Regions from separate parts of the Homo sapiens genome. Here regions 2 and 3 are each linked to region 1. The links are contacts of gene promoters, found by promoter capture Hi-C in blood cells and fetal thymus (Javierre and others, 2016). All regions are on one chromosome and are shown on one strand. Each heading gives the region's core, a stretch centred on a gene start or on the middle of the fragment in contact. The rest is flanking DNA. Distances are from core to core; before and after follow the strand shown.

Region 1 (3,389 bases), core at 120-2,619:
CCGGTCAGTCCTGAGCAGGGCATAAAGTGAATGTCCTTTTTTGGACTGAAGCCTACTTTTTTCAAAAAGGGCACCAGTTTTTCTTTACATTCTTCATATCTCTCGATGCTCCAATTTACTGTGGGATCATCCATCTTATTAATAAGCACTATTAAATGTTTTACCCCTGCCGTTTTTGCCAACATCGCATGTTCTCTTGTCTGTCCACCTTTTTCAAATCCAGTTTCAAACTCTCCTTTCCTGGCAGAGATGACCAGCACAGCCAAATCAGCTTGAGAAGCACCACCAATCATATTTGGGACAAAACTCTTGTGGCCAGGGGCATCTAAAATTGTGAAATGTTTCCTTTCTGTTTCAAAATAGGCACGACCCACTTCGACTGTTTTACCCTTGTCTCGTTCCTCCTGATTTGTATCTAAGGCCCAGGACAAATACCAGGTTTCTCTGTTTTTTTCCTTAGCTTCTCTTTCATATTTCTCCAGTGTTCTTTTGTCAACCATTCCAGTCAAAAACATTATCTGTCCTCCGATGGTTGACTTGCCAGCGTCTACATGGCCAATGAATACTACATTTACGTGTTCTTTCTTAGGTGCACCTGAGGGTACGATCACAGATTTGGATTTTCTTATTTCCTCTTTTTCCTCCATCATTTCCTGGCCACTTTCTTCTGGGGGCCCTGAATCTCCCGAGGAACCACCCCCAGGCTCGGCTTCACTTACTTCTTTACTGTGCTCCCATGATTCTTCTAGGGCCATTTCCACCTCTCCATTTTCTACAACAGGTTCTGAAAGTTCCATGGTAACGGCTGAATTGGAACCTTCAAGCGACACTAACGGTTCCTCTCGGGAAGGTTCCACAGGTGCCCCCCGTCCCATCCTTTTACCTTGAGGGTATCCCGCGCCGGTGCAGGTTTCATCGTTGCTGCCGGAGCCGGCCGGGAGGGTGGGCGGCTGAGTCGGGCCCCGCAGGAAGGACGGCACGAACTCCGCGGCGTGTACGTTAGGCACGAAGGGCTTGGCGTTGACGTTGAGCTTACGGCTGAAAGCCGAGCTGAGGGGCTCGCGCTGGGCCTCGGCCACCGCAGAGGAGACTCCATCCCCGCTCGGGGCCGACCCCGGGGATTCCATGTCCACCTGGTCCCAGCAATCGGGCGCCGAGTCGCTGCTGCTGCTGCCCGAATCCATGGTCTCGGAACTTGCTGTGTGGCAGTGAGGGAGCGGGCTCAACAGGCCAGAAGAGCGGGCTCCGCCGGCGGGGTTAAGGCAGCAAGAGCGAAGGGCCAAGGGGTAGCGACACGAACCTTAGCTGCACCGCGGAGGCAGCTAAGCGCCGATGCTGCATTCGCAACTGCGGCGGCAGCAGCAGATATGGCGGCTCAACACTCTCCTCTTGTGTGTGAGCGGATCTCCTCCCCCAAACCCCAACCACTTCCGACTCCTCCACCCCCGACCCAACGCCGGGCGTGGATTGACCCCTCGCTGCTATCCGTACGCTTGGCTTCCTTACTTCTTCTTAGCCACGGGCTAAGTCCAAAAGTATTATTTTTTAAAACGAAAATTTCCATTCACTTTTTTGTTCACACAGTCTGGCAGAGCAATTTGACCACAATCTGATGATTAAACCTAGACAGGAACACATGGTATACAATTCTACCAAAAGATTCAAGTAAAAGTGATCATTTCTATTGAACAAATGGGAGGCAAGATAAGGGTTAACTATACAGAAATTCAGAAACCCAGCAACTGAAGGGAGAGGCAAGGAATGGGTAGGGAGGGACTCATGAAATATATGAGTCTGTAGCCGAACTTAGGAAATGCAACTTAAGATCACTCATTAATTTGAAATCCACAGGCCTTTTGATTTTCCCTTTCCAGTGGGCCCCCATAAGCCTGTAACTTCTGCTGATGGCTTCTATAGTTTAAGGATAGGGTTACAACTTCTTTTCATGTTAAGCACCCTGGCTGTCTGAGGGGAGAGAATTTCCAAGGAGATCCTTGTTCCAGTGAAGCTTCCAGTCACTTCATATGCAGATGCCTGCACAATGGCTGGCCTGCCATTCAATGGTGGATCACGTAGACAAGCACAGGACTCAGATCACTCTTGTTTTACCAACCAACTGAATTCTGGGTTTATCTGCACTACTCCCCAGCACCTCCCTAGTACATCCTGCATCCACAGGCCTCGGGTTTTCCTGCTTCATTCCGGGGGGCCTGGAATCCTACTCACTGCACTGGCTTTGCTCTAAGAAACAATCAGTGTCATGTTGAACCCCTCTACAGTTTATGGTAATGAGACAGGGCTGTAGGTGTCAGCCTAATTAAACCAATTAAGACTTCTGAGATGAACAAAGACCTTAAGACCCTAATCAAAAGAATCTCACTCTCAGAAAGTGTTAACAGTTGAGTCAAAGCCTCAGCGACCTTGTTTGTAAATTAATTTAGTGCAAACTGACATAGAAAATACAAACTTATTCTCTGAATCTGTTTTTAGTCTTCATGTACTCAAATCTGTCACCTTTTGCTTTTATGAATTCAGGTTTTGTGACATACCTAGAAAGACTATTCAGTCCAAACAATCTGCTTAGTACAAGATGGTGTCACATAGATGGATTTATTTTTTTATTTTGAGACAAAGTTTCACTTTTGTTGCCCAGGCTGGAGTGCAGTGGCATGATCTCAGCTCACTGCAACTTCTGCCTCCTGGGTTCAAGCAATTCTCCTGCCTCAGCTTCCTGAGTAGCTGGGATTACAGGCGTCCGCCACCAAGCTCAGCTAATTTTTCTTAATATATATTTTTAGTAGAGACAGGGTTTCACCATGTTGGCCAGACTGGTCTTGAACTCCTGACCTCAGGTGATCCACCTGCCTCGGCCTCCCAAAGTGCTGGGATTACAGGCATGAGCCACCACGCCTGGCCTCATAGTTGGATATTTAAATCCAACAACAAAGCAAAATATTATAAAACCAAGTACCTGATTATAACTTGAGAATTGTGTTCTCCAGACTTTAGGGGTAGGAAAAAAGACAGACTTGGACCCTTGATGTTTTCACTCTGGGGCTGCCACTATTATACTAGCTCTGTACTGTTTCCACACCTTCATTCTTTTTGCCTCCGGTTATGGATTAATTATTTACAGTGACATAAAGAGAATGTGCACACCTATTCACAATAAACAGGAAGAACTGAGAGGTAGAATGTGCAGAGAGACCCTCCACACAAGTGCTGGAGCCTTCTTGGACATTGTGTGAACCTAGAATGGACATTTCTGGGAGAACCTGTCAAGGTTTTGGCAGCCGTGTTCACATAAGGTAATTCATGCAAGGAAGCAGGAGACATCTGGGATTTTTCCTTCACCTGGGTCGAATGCATTGGTCATGAACATATTGGTA
Region 2 (3,518 bases), core at 744-3,243, 130 kb before region 1:
GGAAGTACATAAAGAAAGGGAGAGCACTGGAGAAGGAATAAATGAAGCTTTCCTTCAAAGAGGAAATCAAATCTCCAATTACAGAATATTTGAGGATGCTGTAATTAAAGGAAATTTATGTATCTTTCCATTATAAAGGCAGCTACATGCAATTAACAAGAGAAATATCTTAAACATAAAGATACAGCAAAGATGAAAATAAATGGATGGAATAAGTTATTACATGCAAATAATAAAAAGATGATGTATTAATATCAGACATAGTACTTTAAAGCAAAATATAATAAAAACAAAATCATAGCATGAGATTATAACACCCCTAAGTAAAGGATAGAATAACCATATGAAATAATGGGTCCCTCTTGAAGCCTCTACATTGATAATATACACTGAGCCTCCAAACATAAAGCAATATGGTGCCTCAGAATAAACACTTTAGAATTCTTAAATCCCTCATCCATGTTTTCTAGACTTGAGTCAACTTGATTTTATCTTCTTTATTTATATATGTATAAGAATTTTAAAACATTTTAAAAGTATACCTAGTAAAGTGCTACACATTGTGATAAGTGCTGGAGAAATAATGATGGCAAAAATACATGTATTACCTGCTTTCAAGGATTAATGGATCTGAGTCCAGTCAGATTTCCACAATTTTAATAAAGTTGGCTGGATTTCTGGTGCCAATTTGCATCATAAGAGCAGGCAAAGTGACATCTTAGGATTATATCAAATGCGTTCCTATGGCTTCAGTATGTATTTAACAATAATGAATAACATCCAAACTCTGCTTGAACGACCATCCATGATTACTACATTCATAGAGTTCATCACTGCTAATGAATTTTGATGTTAATAAGATCTGAAGCTTGGCTAAAGGCTCTTCAATGCTCTTCACACATTTTCTCACCATCGCAGGCTTTCTTGGTGACTTGTAATCTCTTACAGACTTAAATAGATTACACCTTCCTTCATATTGCACAATTCCCTTCCAGTTAATTCCTCACCCCCATCACCACAGCAACTCACATTCCATTAATAAGCAGAAGGTTATCAGAAGAGACAAGGGGAGGAAGCCTGCAAGTAGAACCTCAATGCACAGTTTGGGGATATTTGTTTGATACTGCATCAGATGACCTTACCATGTGAGCTTCTGGTATCTTGTGACATAGAGTCCCTCTTTGATTTGCACTGGAAAATTTCAAGACATATCTGAATGCTCTCAGACACCTGGGATATGATTTAGTGCCATATGTGTCCTCAATGTTCAGCATCAATATAAACCTCATAAACCACTTAATTTGGGAATCATGGAACATTAACAACAATTAAAATAGATATATAGCTGGACTCAGAAAAGTCATATGAGTTCAGCTACATAGTATGACATTTCCTGATTTCATTTTATAAAAGAAAAATCATCTGAAAAACATTGGGAAAATGGTCCATACCAAGTCTAACATCACACACATACATGCACAGTTGTAATTAATATACTACATCTGAGATTCTTTTTGTATATAATGTTTTATCACAATTATCTTGGCATAACATTTTCTATGACATTAAAAAGTCTTTGCAAAATTCTTTATGATAACGTGTAATATCCCATCATATGAACTTACCTACTTGACCAAATAACAAAAATCTTGTTTCCATTTATTTTTGTTCACTAGATTATCATTGTGGTGATTTTCCCCCAACAAACCTCTGTGCATACCTCCAATTATTTCTTTATGGTATATTATTAGAAATGGAATTACTAGTTCAAACGGGTATGAACTATTTTAAGGCCGTTATTCAATAATACCAAATTGCTTTCTAGAAAGGTTTTTGTCAACACTAGCAATGCAGAAGACTTCTCACATACCCTTAACAGTGCTGAACATTTGCTTTGAAAATATCTTTGCCATTTTGACAGACAAAATGACATTTAATTGATTCAAACTGTATTTATTATTATTATTAATGATGGGAAGATACTCTCAGCGTTTCTTAATCATTTGTATTTTGCTGTGAGAATTCTTTGTACATTAAGGTTATTAACCTTGTATCTGTCACACTTGTTGCAAATGCTTTTTTTGGTTGGTGTCTTGCCTCTTAGTCTTATTTATGAATTCCTGATCTAGGAAAAAATGCAATCTATGACTTTCTTTTCCACTATCATTTTCTCCATTAAAAAAAATGCTGAGGATGTCCTTTGCTATTGAAAAGCCAAACAAATATTCCTTTTACTAGAAAACAATTCAGAAACGTATATTTAGAGCCTAAAAAATATCTATACTTTCTTAGTAATTTACCTTTGAAGACTATGCTTTAAATTGAAAGTGATAAAAAATCCGATTCAGATGTTTTTAATGGCAGAAGCATGCTTCTATTGTAATATTAAATGAGAAAAGATAATATAAATTTAGCAGGTTATTGAATGGAACTTTCACACTTTCCTCAGAATTTTGGTTAAAGCCATATAGCCTTTAAAAAGAAAAGAAAAGAAAAGAAAAGAAAAAGGTACCCAGTGCCTCCACATTCTAAAAAGAACATCCCAGGAGATCTGAACACAATCCTACGGGCCTTACATGGGGAGAGCATACTAGTCATGCTACTGGTATTCATTCCATTCCTTTTCAGCCCATATGTACTCAGAAAGCTAGAAAGAATTAGATAAGAATTTACAGTGTTGTGAGTCCTTGGCTTGGGGAAGAGTGTTTTCCTTTTTCTTGAGGAAGGAGAGGGGCATGCAACTCCCTCACCAAAGCCATGTGAGGAGGGATCCAAAGGAATCACTTACACAGATTGGGGGAGTCTGCATGGGATAAGAACAGAGTGGAGTATCACATTTTGTATATTCAACAGTTTCTCTCCAGGTTGAAATTTCTCATGATTACTCAGGTTTGATTTGTTCCTGAAGGCTTTTTTCCACTGACTGCATTTCTATGGCTTCAGTATGTGTTTAACAATAATGAATGACATTTGAACTCTGGTTGAAAGACCATCCACAAAGTCAACTGAATGTGAAAAGAAAAAAAAAAAAAGAAAGAAAGACCATCCATGATCACTACATTCATAGAGTTTATCTCTGCTAATGAATTATTTGATGTTAATAAGATCTGAAGCTTGGCCAAAGGCTCTTCAATGCTCTTCACACATTTTCTCACCATCATGGCCTTTTCGTGCTGATTTATAGTCTCTGAAATTGGTCTGAAGCTATGGTCATGTGACCCACACTATGGGTGTGGGTGTGGGTTTGTCCTATGTATGGTTTCATCCTCCCGTAGGATGTCTGAGATTAGAGCACAATTACTCTAACACTTACTATAGTCTTGGAAGCCCCCTGGCTGGGAACCAATCCTGTGAATATCTACCCCAAGCCTTAAACATCTATCCTTTGAAAGAAGGTTAATCTCCTTTTCTAACTTGTCTTTATGCTCAGAAGTTCCTTGTGGTTAGAGTCATGAGGAGTTATCCTTGTAATATATGGCCACATTCCCCTGTGACCCAAATTGTTCCTCAAATCCCTG
Region 3 (3,327 bases), core at 114-2,613, 190 kb before region 1:
TTATCAGTTTCAAGTTTTTTTGGTGGGGTTGTTAAGTTTTTCTAAGTATAAGATTATGTCATCTGAAAACAAGGACAATTTGACTTATTTTTTTCCAATATAAATGCTCTTTATTTCTTTTTCTTGCCTAATTGCTCTAGCTAGGATTTCCAATACTATGTTGAACAAAAGTGGTGTACATGGGCATTCTTGTCTTGTTCCAGATCTTAAAGGAAAGACTTTCTATTTTTCTCCATTAAGTATAATGTTAGTGGTGGGTTTGTCATATATGGCCTTCATTTTTTTGAGGAATGTTCTTTTTATGCCTAATTTGTTGAGAGGTTTTTTATCGTGAAGAGATGCTGAACTTTGTCAAATGAGTTTTCCACATCTATTGAGATAATCATATGCTTTTCATCCTTCATTTGTTAATGTTATGTGTCACATTTGTCACATTTATAGATACGTGCATGTTGAACCATTATTGCATCCCTAGAATAAATTTAGCTTGCTCATAGTGAATAACCTGTTTGATATGCTGTTGGATTCAGTGTGCTAATATTTTGTGGAGGATTTTTGCATCAGTACTCATCAGAAATATTGTACTGTAATTTCATTTTTTGGGGTGGGGGGGGGCCTTGTCTGATTTTGATTTTTGTATGGGCCCAGGGTAATGCTAGGCTTATAGGATGAGTTAGGGAGAATTCCCTCATCTTCAATTTTTGGAAATATTTTGAGATAAATTGATATTAGTTTTTCTTTTAAAGTTTGGTAGAATTCAAAAATGAAGCTATTTGGTCCCTGGCCTTTTGTTGTTGGGAGGCTTTCTTATTGATCCAATGTCTTTACTTATTATTGGTCTATTTGGTTTTTCTGTTTCTTCATGCTTCAAACTTGGAACATAGACAAACTAACTTGTCTGCAGACCACCAAAATTTGTAACCAGACATTCCATGTAAAAGCTTCTGTGAATGGAAAATTTTAACTCAAGAATTCCAGCCACTGACATGACCATCAATTCCCCTCCCTCAAGTTACCTGTGACTGTTTTCCTTTATTGGGAGAGAAGGTGCACAAGAGTGAGCACCAGGCAGTCAAAATGAGTTTATGTTAATAAATTGGCTTCTGTTCTATAATTACTTCTGTGAGTCCAATTGCCATGGATCAGCCTCCTTAGGCAGTATCTTTGCTGAGTGTCAACAACATGAAATACTGTGAACCACAGGACTTTCCACAAGGTGGCCAGTAGAAGATATCAGCTGCTTCTCTAAAAGAGATCTTTATGAGGGCCTCTAACTGAAACAAGTGCTACATCAAATACCTCTTGAAAAACTCCTCAGCTCTAGGGCTGAGGAAAAGCAAGGACTGAGAGAAGACGCATAAATGGGGGCCGAGTGCCTCCACATGAGCACCTCACTCATGAATTGCCTGTATCTTCCCTGCCTGTTGTGTAGGCCCAGCAATGAACTTATTTTGTGTGTGCTGGGGAAGGACAGAAGGGCAAGGCAGACTTGGATATCACAGCAGGATCTGTTATGGGGCTTGTCTTCCTCTCATAGCAGCTCTGGGAAGTGGATGTCAGCATCTTCATTTTACAGACAAGAAGCTGAGGCATAGACATACATATTGCATGAACTAGACAAAGCCACAGAGCTAGTAAACAAAATTTAAAATTTGGTCCTGGGCAGCACATTCCCCAACTTCAAACCATGCTATAAGGCTACAGTAACCAAAGCAGTATGGTACTGGTACAAAAACGGAAACATAAACCAATGGAAGAGAATAAAGAACCCAGAAATGAAGCTTCACACCCACAGCCATCTGATCTTCAACAAAGTTGACAAAAATAAGCAAGGAGGAAAGAACTCTCTATTCAATAAATGGTGTTGGGATAACTGGCTAGCCATAAGCAGAAGATTGAAACTGGACCCCGTTCCTTACACCATATACAAAAATCAGCTCAAGATGGATTAAAGATTTAAATACAATACCTTAAACGATAAGAATCCTAGAAGAAAACCTTAAAAACACCATTCTGGACGTTGATCTTGGGAAAGAATTATTGGCTAAAAGTCCTCAATAGAAATTGCAACAAAACCAAAAATTGACAAGTAGGACCTAATTAAACTAAAGAGCTTCTGCACAGCAAAAGAAATTATCAACGGAGTAAACAGCCTACAGAATAGGTGAAAGTATTCTCAAACTATGCATTCAACAAATGTCTAATATCCAGAATCTACAAGGAACTTAAATAATTCAACAAGCAAAAAAAATTTAAGATGGGCAAAGGACATGAACATTTCTCTGTTTTTGTGTGTGTGTGTTTTGTTGTTGTTGTTGTTGTTTATTTGAGACAGGGTCTCACTCTGTCACCCAGGAAGGAGTGCAGTAGCAAAATTATGGCTCAGTGCAGCCTCAATCTCCTAGGCTCAAGTGATCCTCCCACTTCAGCCTCCTGAGCAGCTGGAACTACAGGTGTGCATCACCACACCCGGCTAACTTTTTTGTTTTTTGTAGAGACAGGGTTTCACCATGTTGCCTAGGCTAGCCTTGAACTGCTGGACTCAAGCAATCTGCCCTCCTCAGCCTCCCAAAGTGCTGGGATTACAGGCATGTGTCACCACACCTGGCTGACACTTCTCAAAAGAAGACATACAAGTGGCCAAAGAACATACGAAAAAATGCTCAACATCACTATCATTAGAGAAATGCAAATCAAAATCATAATGAGATACCATTTAACACCACTCAGAATGGCTGTTATTAAAAAGTTAAAAAAACAACAGATGCTGGCAAGGCTGCAGAGAAAAAGGAATGCTTATATGCTATTGGTGGGAATGTAAATTAGTCTAGCCACTGTGGAAAGTAGTCTAGATATTTCTCAAAGGACTTAAAACAGAGCTGGACATTTCTCAAAGAACTTAAAACAGAGCTACAATTTGACCCAGCAATCCCATTACTAGATATATATCCAAAAGAAAATAGATTATTATACCTAAAAGAAACATGCATTCATAAGTTCATTACCATGCTATTTACAACAGCAAAGACATGGAACCAACCCAGGTGCCCATCAGTAGTGTAATAGATAAAGAAAATGTGTACCAAAACAGAGATATAGATCAATGGAACAGAACAGAGCCCTCAGAAAGAACGCCATGTATCTACAAGTATCTGATCTTTGACAAACCTGAGAAAAACAAGCAATGGGGAAAGGATTCCCTATTTAATAAATGGTGCTGGGAAAACTGGCTAGCCATATGTAGAAAGCTGAAACTGGATCCCTTCCTTACATCTTATACAAAAATTAATTCAAGATGGATTAAAGACTTAAACGTTAGACCTAAAA

The links. Contacts are between HindIII fragments. The CHiCAGO score rates a contact against its expected background, and 5 or more counts as called.
Region 2: a contact is called between a fragment that was not itself captured here and the fragment with the promoter of GSPT2 in region 1, in 1 of 17 cell types (fetal thymus). The highest score is 5.2, in fetal thymus.
Region 3: a contact is called between a fragment that was not itself captured here and the fragment with the promoter of GSPT2 in region 1, in 4 of 17 cell types (activated CD4 T cells, non-activated CD4 T cells, total CD4 T cells and 1 more). The highest score is 6.4, in activated CD4 T cells.

What each region holds. Positions count from the first base shown.
Region 1 is chrX:51,741,422-51,744,810 of GRCh38, reverse strand. GSPT2 (G1 to S phase transition 2) reads right to left here and starts at 1,369. Exons shown (of 1, transcript NM_018094.5): 1 at 1-1,369. The coding sequence starts at 1,184. The HindIII fragment of the contact is 6,668 bases long and covers 1-2,010 here.
Region 2 is chrX:51,875,749-51,879,266 of GRCh38, reverse strand. It overlaps a transcript of MAGED1 not described here. Among named protein-coding and RNA genes, the nearest start is that of MAGED1, 16 kb to the left of the region's middle. The HindIII fragment of the contact is 2,245 bases long and covers 871-3,115 here.
Region 3 is chrX:51,934,115-51,937,441 of GRCh38, reverse strand. No RefSeq gene overlaps it. Among named protein-coding and RNA genes, the nearest start is that of MAGED1, 42 kb to the right of the region's middle. The HindIII fragment of the contact is 840 bases long and covers 944-1,783 here.